2 separate regions of the Homo sapiens genome follow, and region 1 is linked to region 2. The links are contacts of gene promoters, found by promoter capture Hi-C in human tissues and cell types (Jung and others, 2019). All regions are on one chromosome and are shown on one strand. Each heading gives the region's core, a stretch centred on a gene start or on the middle of the fragment in contact. The rest is flanking DNA. Distances are from core to core; before and after follow the strand shown. Region 1 holds the start of ISOC2 (isochorismatase domain containing 2). Region 2 holds the start of TNNT1 (troponin T1, slow skeletal type).

Evidence for each region. The method cuts DNA at HindIII sites, captures the fragments that hold promoters and counts their contacts. A contact is called where the count stands out against the background at its distance.
Region 1: the fragment with the promoter of ISOC2 here is called in contact with the fragment with the promoter of TNNT1 in region 2 in 3 of the 25 tissues and cell types used here (lymphoblastoid cells, mesenchymal stem cells and thymus).

The regions. Positions count from the first base shown.
Region 1 is chr19:55,460,273-55,465,425 of GRCh38, reverse strand. ISOC2 (isochorismatase domain containing 2) reads left to right here and starts at 3,784. Exons shown (of 6, transcript NM_001136201.2): 1 at 3,784-3,914. C19orf85 (chromosome 19 open reading frame 85) reads left to right here and starts at 675. Exons shown (of 2, transcript NM_001386794.1): 1 at 675-1,044; 2 at 1,459-2,425. The coding sequence starts at 872. The coding sequence ends at 1,954. RefSeq lists enhancers at 232-954, 1,677-2,399. The HindIII fragment of the contact is 25,257 bases long and covers 1-5,153 here.
Region 2 is chr19:55,147,778-55,153,135 of GRCh38, reverse strand. TNNT1 (troponin T1, slow skeletal type) reads left to right here and starts at 3,930. Exons shown (of 14, transcript NM_003283.6): 1 at 3,930-3,975. TNNI3 (troponin I3, cardiac type) reads left to right here. Exons shown (of 8, transcript NM_000363.5): 8 at 1,219-1,369. The coding sequence ends at 1,302. The HindIII fragment of the contact is 19,018 bases long and covers 1-5,358 here.

The DNA of each region.
Region 1 (5,153 bases), core at 2,535-5,034, 310 kb before region 2:
ACACCCGGTGCTCCCCTACCCAACCTGAGACCCAGGGTCCCCGCTCCGGCCAACACCCTTCCAGAAACAAGGGGACCCGGCCCAACCTCTGCCTCCCACAGACACCAGGGGTCCCAGTGCCTCAATAAAACACCCTGGGGGAGACTGCGCCCTGTTCTCCCGTCCCCTCCCGTCCTGCCACACCCTTCCCCCTCTCCTCCCTCACTCTGCTGCTCAGGATTCTATGAGCCCCAGGATTTCGGGGGTGACCCTCCAGGAGCCAACCCCTCCTGCTGGCTGGAGACCTCGGCCCGCACCAGCCCCTTTGGGAGCCTCGGTTTCCCCTCCTAAGGTGCTGGGCTGAGCAGAGGGAGGGAGGCACAGGTGTGTCTGAGGGTGGGTGGGCAGATGCAGCCCAGCTCCCCTCCCTCCCAGCCCCCTCCCCACGGCTCCAATTAAGGGTCCTCCACGCTCAATCGCTGCATTTGACTTACTGGCGGCCTCGCCTCCCGAACGAGGCCTTTGTTCCCTTAATTGGCCATCTCCAGGCACCATTCTCTGCCCCCCGCCGACGCACGCCAGGTCCATATCCCAGGTCCAACTATGCGCTAATTGGGCACTTAGAGGGCCCCAGAAAGCCCCCTCCCCTCCCTGTTCCCTGCCTTCCTATATTAGCCCCCACCTGCCGCTCCCTCAGACTTCAGGTCGGGCTCCTGGGAGGTGGGGACAGGGTTAGGGCACAGTGGGGAGGCCTTGGCCCAATTCCCAGCCCTGCCTCCTCCCCAGCCCGGGGTGCCTGGGCCTCCAGAGTCCCCTGCCCCTCCCTGCTCACAGATTTGGGGGGTGCTTTGGTCAGCAATATTGTGGGGAGTTACTCCAGACCACCCTGGCCATGCACCCCGGGGTCCCCGAAGGCCCTGGGGTCTCCGAGCCCGGCCCCCGGGAGCTGTGTGCCTTTGTGAGCGGGGCGGCCGCCCACATGCTGCGGGCCCTGCAGCCCCGGCGCACCCGGCCCCCCAAGAGGCGGCCCAACCACAGAAGGTTTCTGCACAACCAGATCTGCAGGTGAGGGGGCTGGTGGGGAAGGTGGGCACGGGACGGGGAAGAGGGGAAGGAGCAACCAGCACCCTTGGCTGGGGGAGACCAGGTACAGACAGAGAGGAGCAGCCCCCAGGGCTGGATGCCAGCAACAGTCAACGTGCATTTATTGAGTGCCTACTGTGTGCCAGGCCAGTTAGCAAAGCAGATAAAGTTCCTTGCTGTCGTGGAGGTTGTGTTTTCATGGGGGTGGCGGACGGTCAGGAATCACCAAAATAAATAACTAGCACGGTGTGATGCGACCACATAGGTGACCCTTGCAAATATGCTGGCCGGGGGTGGTGGCTCAAGCCTGCAATCCCAGCACCTTGAAAGGCCGAGGCAGGAGGATCGCTTGAGTTCAGGCGTTAGAGACCAGCCTGCTCACATCTGTCTTTACAGGCAGTTCACCAAGATTGAGGCTGCCACCCAGCGCCTGGCCCTCTCCATCCTGTCCCAGGAGGCACCTCCCCAGAGACCCTCGCTCCAAAAGCCACCCCCACCGCCTCCATCCCCCTTCCTGGGAGTGGCCTGTGCTGTGGCCCCCACTGAGGCTCCCCATGCCAGCGCCAGCCTGAGTCTCGCTGCCCTGGACACCTCTACCCTCGACCTCTTTGACAACATTGCGCTCACCCCAGAGTGTGCCTCAATGCCATGGGACCCCTCCTCTGGTTCTGATGCTCCCCTGCCAGCGCCGGGTCTGTCCCATCGCGACCTGGGCCAGCTGGACCTGAGGCAGGTCCCACATTTCTGCGGCCCCCTGCCCCTTCCCCAGCATGCCCTGGGGGAAGAGGCTGATCTCGTGGCTCCCGACTGGGGTTGGGTGGACTGCTGGGAGGTGCCTCGTGCCTGGGATTCTCAGGGGATCCCCGAGGGTTGGGGGACCAGCTCCCCATGAGGCCAATCACAACCCAGCCCAGAACCCAGGACAAGCCAGAGGCCCCTCCACGACGGCTCTACAGCCCTCTCCAGGAGCCCCCAACCTGTCCACTCCCTTCCTGGCAGCCCCTGGGAAAATAAACCAACCCAGACCCCCACTTCAGACCACTGCCTCAGGGGTCTCCTCCTGGGCCCAGGGGCCCCACCTCCACCTCTTCTTGCTTTCCTGCCTTCCCCCTTCCTTCTGCCTAGCCCCATCTGGGCATCCACCCCTCACTCTCACCCAGGCTCACCTCTGCCTAATGTCTGCTCTCCTGTCATTTATTCCCAAAGATGTATCGAGCGCCTACTATGGGCCAGGCCCAGGTCTAGGACTTGAGGATTCAGCTGTGAACGAGGCAGACGGGACCCCTGCCTCAGGGAGCTCCCTGTTCTGTGTGCATGTGTGTGTTTTGGCGGGGAACAGACAATAAAAGAGTATATCCATGCATTTTTCAAAAAGCAAGATTCATTTCCAATTCAGATTGGAGTTAGTGCTGAAAAGAAAATAAAACACAAGGCCGGGTGCGGCGGCTCACACCTGTAATCGCAGCACTCTGGGAGGCCAAGGCAGGCGGATCACTTGAGCCCAGGAGTTCAAAACCAGCCTGGGCAACAGAGTGAGACCTCCATCTTTACAAAAAAATTAAAAAATTAGTCAGGTGTGGTGGCGCATACCTGTGGTCCCAGCTACTCAGGAGGCTGAGGTGGGAGGATCGCTTGAGCCCGGGAGGTTGAGGCTGCAGCAAGCTGTGATCGTACCATGGTACTCCAGCCTGGGTGATAGAGCAATTTTTTTCTTTTTTTTGATGTTTCAAAAAAATTAAAAACAGCGACCTGATGGAAGGGCTACCTGACACCAGGTGGTCAGGAAAGGCTTTGAAAGCCTGGAAGGTTGGGCCATGGGGAGTCCTAGGATTCCAGGCTGAGGCAGCACACGTGCAAAGGCCCTGCGGTGGGACATTGAGGGAAGAGCAAGAGGAGACCCCTGTGGCTGGAGCGGAGTGAGCAGGGGGAGTGGTGAGAGGCGAGGTCTGCACGGACCAGGAAGGCCGACCATGAATTGGGAGGAGTTTGGATTTATTCCAAGACAGATAGGAAATTCTCTCTTTCTCTCAACCTCCATTTCCAAGCACAGAGTCTAAATTATTCTAAACACCACCCGAGGAGGCAGGTGCTGTACAGATGGGGAAACTGAGGCAGCACAGAGCGCAAAGGACAGGGGGGCGTCAAATTCCTCACTTGATCGCTCCCTCAGCCAGCCCCTTCCTGGAAAGTGCTTGGGTATCTTTGTAAGCCTCCGTTTCTTGAGAGAGGGCCAGGTTTCGAACCGCAGACATGCCTCTACTCTAGGTAAGACCCCTCTCTCTCTCTCCCGGCCTCGGCGGTCTGCTCTGTGCAATGGGGCCGGCCGAGACGCCCTCTCTCCAGCCAGAGTCTGAGCCTTCGGAGACCACCGCGCGACTCCGCCCCGTCGGCCGCCACTCACGCCCTCTACGGCTCTCCATTGGCAGAACGACCTGCTGCCCCGCCCCCACGGCGCCTTTGCGAGCTAATCATTTTCTTGAGACTGACAGCCTTGCCGGCACCGCCCCCCCTGGGGCGGGAGCAAAGCAGCTGCATATGCGGATTGGTTGAGAGGCAGGGGGCGGGGTGAGTTGGTGAGCGCCGATTGCGGGCAGAGGCAGTGGCACATGCGGATTGGCCGGAGAGAGCGGCGAGGCAGAGCATGATGAGTGTCGATTGGACGGCTGGGCCCAAGTGGGCGGAAAACGGACGGTGCAGGGGGTGGGCCACGTGTCCAGCCCTAACGAAACGGTAACCAGCCCTGGGAAGCCCGCAAGAGGCCTCAGCGGTGGCCGTCCGAGAGCCGAGAGGTGAGGGTGCCCCCGCCTCACCTGCAGAGGGGCCGTTCCGGGCTCGAACCCGGCACCTTCCGGGTAAGTCCTCTCTCGCTGCTGGCGCTATTTGGAGACCGACCTTACCGCCTAGCAGATGGGGAAACTGAGGCTCTGCCTGGGCGTCCCGGGCCAAGGTCACAGGACCAGAAGGAGGACTCCACCTGGCCCCGCCAGAATTGGCTGGCCAGAGATTGGAAGCGTCCCCGGGTCGCGCCTGCCGCCTCTGTAACAGCGCTGGGGGGTGGGCAGGTTTAATCCCCATTTCTCCGACGAGAAAACTGAGGCTAAGACAAAGAGAAACTTGCCCAAGGTCACACAGCCAGGAAGTCCGGGCTCCAAGGCCGGGTTTCCGAGACCGGGTGGGGAAATCAACGGCCCTACCCCGCCCCCTGTTGCCGCCCACCTCCAGCCACGCCCCCTTTGGCCTTGGGTACCCTCCACCCAGGCTGAATCTCTCCTCGTTCCGCAGGACACGCCCAACCCTCTCCAGCCCAGACCTCCCCTTCACATCTCTCTCTCTCACACACCCACCCTCACCCCAATTTTTCATCTCCCAAAAACCAGTTCCCCTCCCCGGGATCCCCTATGAATCTTCAGATCATGCCCCTCGCTCGACCAGAAACTGGGGGCCTTTCTCCCCGACTTTCCCCACCGTCCCAGCTGCCCCTTCCTGACTCTCCCCTGTCCCACTGGGCCCCAGCGCCGACCTCCTGCTCTCTGGCCTTTTGCCTCCAGTTCAACCGCACGGCGGGGGCCTGAAGCCATCTTTGTATTTTGCATTTTGAACACTTTTTCTGGAATAATACCACAAACGCAGAAAATCGAACGGTTTGCAAATACACAGCTTAAATAAATATTTATAAAGGGAGCACCCTGGTGTAAACAAGTATCCAAAGAAAAAAGTCAAACATGCGCCACATCCCAGGATCTCCCGCCGTCGTCGTTTCCATCACTGTGGTCCAAGGGCAGTCACTGTCCTGGCTTCTGACGCCATAGATCAGTTTTGCCGGGTTTTGGCTTTATGCCAACCCTTTATTGTATATAGTATTGACTAGACAACTTGTTGCACATTGTCCAGAATTCAGAAGAAACAGAATAGGACCCAGTGAAAAGGCTCCTACAGACTTCCCCGGTGCCTGGTTCACCCGCCTGAGTCTCCCGTTTCTTGCTTGTTTGCCAGAGATAGCAGATATAGATATAGGCAACACAGACACATTTTCCTCTCCCTTTTTTCTTTGGCACAAAAAGGAGCATTCCATACACACTGTTCTGCTTCTT
Region 2 (5,358 bases), core at 2,681-5,180:
ACATGGCGAGACCATGTCTCTATAAAAAATACCAAAGTTACCGGGTGTGGTGGCTCGTGCCTGTAATCCCAGCGCTTTGGGAGGCCAAGGCGGGCGGATCATGAGGTCAGGAGTTTGAGACCAGCCTGGCCAACACAGTGAAACCCCACCTGTAGTAAAAATACAAACATTTGCTGGGCGTGGTCGTGGGTGCCTGTAATCCCAGCTACTTGTGAAGCTGAGGCAGGAGAATTGCTTGAACCCGGGAGGCAGAGGTTGCAGTGAGCCGAGATCTCACCACTGCACTCCAGCCCAGGCAACACTGGGAGACTCCATCTCAAAACAAAACAAAACAGAACAAAAGTTAGCTGGGCATGGTGGCACACACCTGTGGTCCCAGCTCCTCAGGAGTCTGAGGTGAGAGGATGGCTTGAGCCCAGGAAGTTGAGGCTGCAGTGAGCCGAGATTGCACGACTGCACTCCAGCTTGGATGAGGCAGCCAGACCCTGTCTCAAATAATAATAATAATAAAATAGAACAATTATAACAGATTGTAATAAAACTCATGAATGTGGTCTCTTTCTCAAAATATCTTATAGCACTGTAATCACCCTTCTTTTCCTTGTGATGTAAAATGACAGTGCCTATGTGCTGAGATGAGGTGAGGTGGATGACATAGGCATTATGACCTGGCGTTAGGCTACTATTGACCTGAGAATCCATCAAACTTATGAATTGTTTATTTCTGGAATTTTCCATTTAATATTTTTGGGCCATGGTTTACCTCAGGTAACTGAAACCACACAAAGTAAAATTGCAGAAAAGGAGGGACTACTATAATAAGAAGAGAAGGAAGGAGACAGGAAGGGCATAAGGCAGACAGGAAGTGGAGGGGAAAGATAGGAAGTGCAGGAAGGAGACAGGAAGTGGAGGGGAAAGACAGGAAGTGCATGAGGGAGACAGGAAGTGGATGGGGAAAGACAGAAAGTACATGAGGGAGACAGGAAGTGCTGGGGAAAGACAGGAAGTGCATGAGGGGGACAGGAAGTGCATGAGGGAGACAGGAAGTGCATGGGGAAAATTGGCAGGGATTATCTTGAAAAGACAGGAAGTGCTCCAGAACTAGATACTTAGGCATCCAGGGTAGAGTGGCCCCACAGGCTGGAGGGAAGACAGGGATTCTTGAGAGACTGGAGACCAAGAAGAGACCCTAACCTCTGACTCATCGCCATCCTCCAGGAAAACCGGGAGGTGGGAGACTGGCGCAAGAACATCGATGCACTGAGTGGAATGGAGGGCCGCAAGAAAAAGTTTGAGAGCTGAGCCTTCCTGCCTACTGCCCCTGCCCTGAGGAGGGCCCTGAGGAATAAAGCTTCTCTCTGAGCTGAAAGTGACTCCATGTCTATTACCCAGGGCTTAGGCAGGAGACAGATGGGAAGACTGCAGGTGGGGCTCCCCCAAAGCCACACAGCAGGTTGGGGACCAGATGGGTCTCCCATGTGAAGCACTCTTGGCTGTGTTATTGAAAAGAATCCCGGGGTTCATGAATTTGGAGAGCGGAGCTTTGTTTCTTAAGAAGCGGATCACAACCTGAAGACCAGAAGCATGGCTTCTTGCCAAAAAACAAAAGCAGGCACTTTAAGGGAGGGAAGGGCAAGGCAGGAATTTATGCTGAGTGGGTTAGCTAAGTGCACGTATTCAACTGGTTATAGAAGGAGCTATGAATATTCATGGACAGGTGGACACATGGACACACGCATGTGTGACAAGCAAACACTCATTTTTTTTTTTTTTTGAGACGGAGTCTTGCTCTGTCACCCAGGCTGGAGTGCAGTGGCACGATCTCAGCTCACTGCAACCTCTGCGTCCTGGGTTCAAGCCATTCTCCTGCCTCAGCCTCTCCAGTAGCTGGGATTACAGGCATGCACCACCACGCCCAGCTAATTTTTGTGTTTTTCGTAGAGACGGGGTTTCACCATGTTGGCCAGGCTGGTCTCGATTTCCTGACCTCGTGATCCGCCCTCCTTGGCCTCCCAAAGTGCTGGGATTACAGGCGTGAGCCACCGCGACTGGCCGCAAACACATTTTACATGCATCCCACCTTCACTTGGTGGTGGAGGCTTAACATTTAAGTGCATTCCATTGAATGCATTCGTATCGAAACACGAAGCAGGGATATGAAGACACTCAGTGCACAGCCTCTGTCAACAGCCAGAACCAGTCCGTGGTCTGCGGCATCTTATCAGGAGAAAGTTACTGAAATCAGTCTCTTGTTCAACTAATGCTGTAGTTATGCCTTGTGGAACAGGGGGTTCAGCTAGTCAGCATCTGGCAATGGATGGCTGCAATGGTTGTAATATTGCTTATCTTGAGGCCGGTGCTTGTTTAGCTGCTAGAAAAAGGAAAAGCCTTGTGGCAGTTGGAACATAGTCGATTATATAAGTGTAGGGATGCGTGGCTTAACCCTTGCCTGGCATGGCCTTAGGTCTTGTTTATAATTTGGTATCTTATTGCCACAAACAGTTCATTCCATCAGTCTTCTGATCTCTATTGTCACAGCTCCTCTGGCCCATGTGGAGTGCACAGAGATGCCAAGACTAAAGGTCAAAGAGAGAGAGACACAGAGAAACAGACAGGCAGAGAGACATGACCGACAACAGAGAGACTGAGTTGGGAGTAGAGAGAGTAGGAGCCAGGCAAAGACCCAAAGAGAGAGGGAGAAAATACCACAAGATGCATAGAAGGAAGTGCAAAGAAAGGAGAAAAGAGAGACAGAGATATACTCACAGCAAGGTGCAGAGACATGGAGACCCTATAAGAGATGGAAATGGAGAGCCACAGAGGGGGAACTGCGGGCACTAAGAGAGACATGGAGAGAACTAGAAAGATAGAGACGTGAACACAGACACAGAGACCCAGAGCCAAAAAGAGACAGAAATGGGGTCATAGGTGGACAGAAATGCACAGAGAGACTGTGAGCCCCCACAGACACAAACGCTGAGAGGGGCAGACATGCAGAGACACCCACAGAAATGCAGAGACAAAACCACCCGGAGACACATGCCGAGAAACACACTGAGGGGCTCAGAAAGCGACAGATGCAGAGAGAGCCCAAGACAGACCCAGCAAGGGGCCCCGAGAAATGCACAGAAACACAAAGACCGAGACCACCAGAGACAGAGGTACGGAGAGGCGGGGAGGGTGAGGAAGCCTGCTCTCCAGGGCTGGCTTGAACCTAGAACTCAAGGTCATGGCTTGGCTGGGAAGCGGGAGGGGGATACCAAAAAAGATCAGCGTTAGATGGAGGTGGGGAGGGAGGGTAGGTTTCACCCTAATTGACACCCCACCCTCCCCCTCCCCCTCCCCACACCTGCTTCCCGGCTTTAGTGCCTGTTGTCACCAGGATGGAATCCTGGCGGCAGACAAAGGGGTGGGGGTGGGAGGAGGAGACAAAAAGATGGACAGAGACAGAGGAGGAGACTAAGAAGTAGAGACAGACACACAGAGACACACAGATGGAGAGCCACAGAGACAACAGAAATGGGGGTCCAGAAAGAGACCTAGATAGAAAGAGGGAACAGAGAGAAGAAAACAGGAAACATTCCTTATAGCCCATGTGTCATTAGTAGGTCCTCCAAGGACCTACTGTGTGCCGGGCATGGGGACGTCAAAGCACAGGGAGCTATAAGGGAGGTAGTTGGAGCACCACGGGAGCCTGGGGTGTGGGGTGGGAGCAGGGGCGGGGCTCCTGGGCCATGCAGATGGGGTTGGCATGGGGTTGGGGAGGGGCCCACGGAGGCTTCTGGACTCTGAGTGTGGAGCCAGGGGCAGCAGGGCTGTCTCTGAACTCCCAGGCTTGTGTTTGAGCAAAGGAATTCTCTCCCCCTCCCTCTCCCCTCGGGGCGGGCCCGAGCCTCCAGCTATAAACTCCCCGGAGCTTCAGTGCCCTCAGCAAGGCTCAGCCTCAAGATTCACAGCATCTCAGACACAGCCTAGGTAAGGGGCTCTGCGGAGCCCTGTGGTCTTCAAAAACCATGTCCTTGGGGGAGGGGGCAGGAGGCAGGTGGGGAAGATGTCGGGTGTGGAGAAATGGTGCAGAGGTAGGTGGGGCATACAACTGGAGGTCTGGGAACTTGAGAGGCTCAGACTTTAGGGGGACTCAGGATAGAGGGGAAAATACTAGGATTTGTGGGTTACACAAATCCTAACCCGGGGCTGCCAGGACTTGGATGTCCCAGAATAAAACCTCCTAGGATCTTGGGGTTCTGGGAATCTGGGGGAAATCTCAGCAGTCAGGGATATCTGGACTTGGAGGTCAAACAATCTGGGTGTCAGGATTTGGGGCCTCAGACTCTGAGGGTATCAGGAATTGGGGGGGTCTCAGAAGAAATTGGGGTTTTGGTAGTGGAGGGCTCGGAATCTGAGACATTATGATAGAAAGCATGAAAACTTAGAGTGCCATTATCTGGGGTATCATGAACTGGGCCTCCGAGTTTGGGTATCAAGATTTTGGGGGTCTCATATTCTTGAGGTTTCAGATTTTAGGAGGTCTCAAGACCTGGGGGTGGTCTTAGGATGTCCCGGCCCATATCTGGACTATCAAGAACTGGGATTTCAGAATCCAGAGCTGTGAGGACTTGCTGGCCTCAGAAACACGGGCATCATAAATCGGGGTCTCAGAATCTGTGGGTATTGGGATTTGGGGCTAGGCACCCTGTGGCCTAGGGTGTCTCAAAGACTTTGAGGTCTAAGAATGTAGGGGTCAGGGTGAGGTCTACGGACAGAAGGTGCCCTTTATGCCCCTGCCCCCTACGTGATGTATGGGAAGGTGAAAGGGGAGACAGGTGGGGAGGAAACCAGCCAGTGGGGTGGGGCGAGTGGGAGAGGGGATGCGGGTGACTAATTCTCCCAGAAGCCCCCCTTCCTCAAATCCCTTCTTAGGAAATGTCCTCGGTTTCACCATCTATGACATCCCCCCAAAATAGCTCCTGGGGGTGGGGCAGCTATTGTCTTCAGGCCACTGTCCCTTCTCAAATGCCTCTTCCTAATCCCAACTGGATCAGGTTCCCATGGACTTGTCATAAGACAAAAGAGGACAGCTGTGCTGAGGGGGCAGGGTCTGCAGCCTCCTGGCTGTGCCAGGACCACACCTACCAAGGTCTGTCCTCATGCATGCTTTAGGACAGCCGGCCCCCTCCCTCAGACCCAAGAGTCCAGACCTGAGCCCTCCTCCCTCAGACGCAGGAGTACAGGCCCCCAGCCCGCTCCTCCCTCAGACTCAGGAGTCTAGACTCCCAGCCTCTCCTCCCTTAGATCCAGGAGTCCAGGCCCCAGCTCCTCCTCCCTCAGACCCAGGAGGCCAGGCCCCCAGACCCTCCT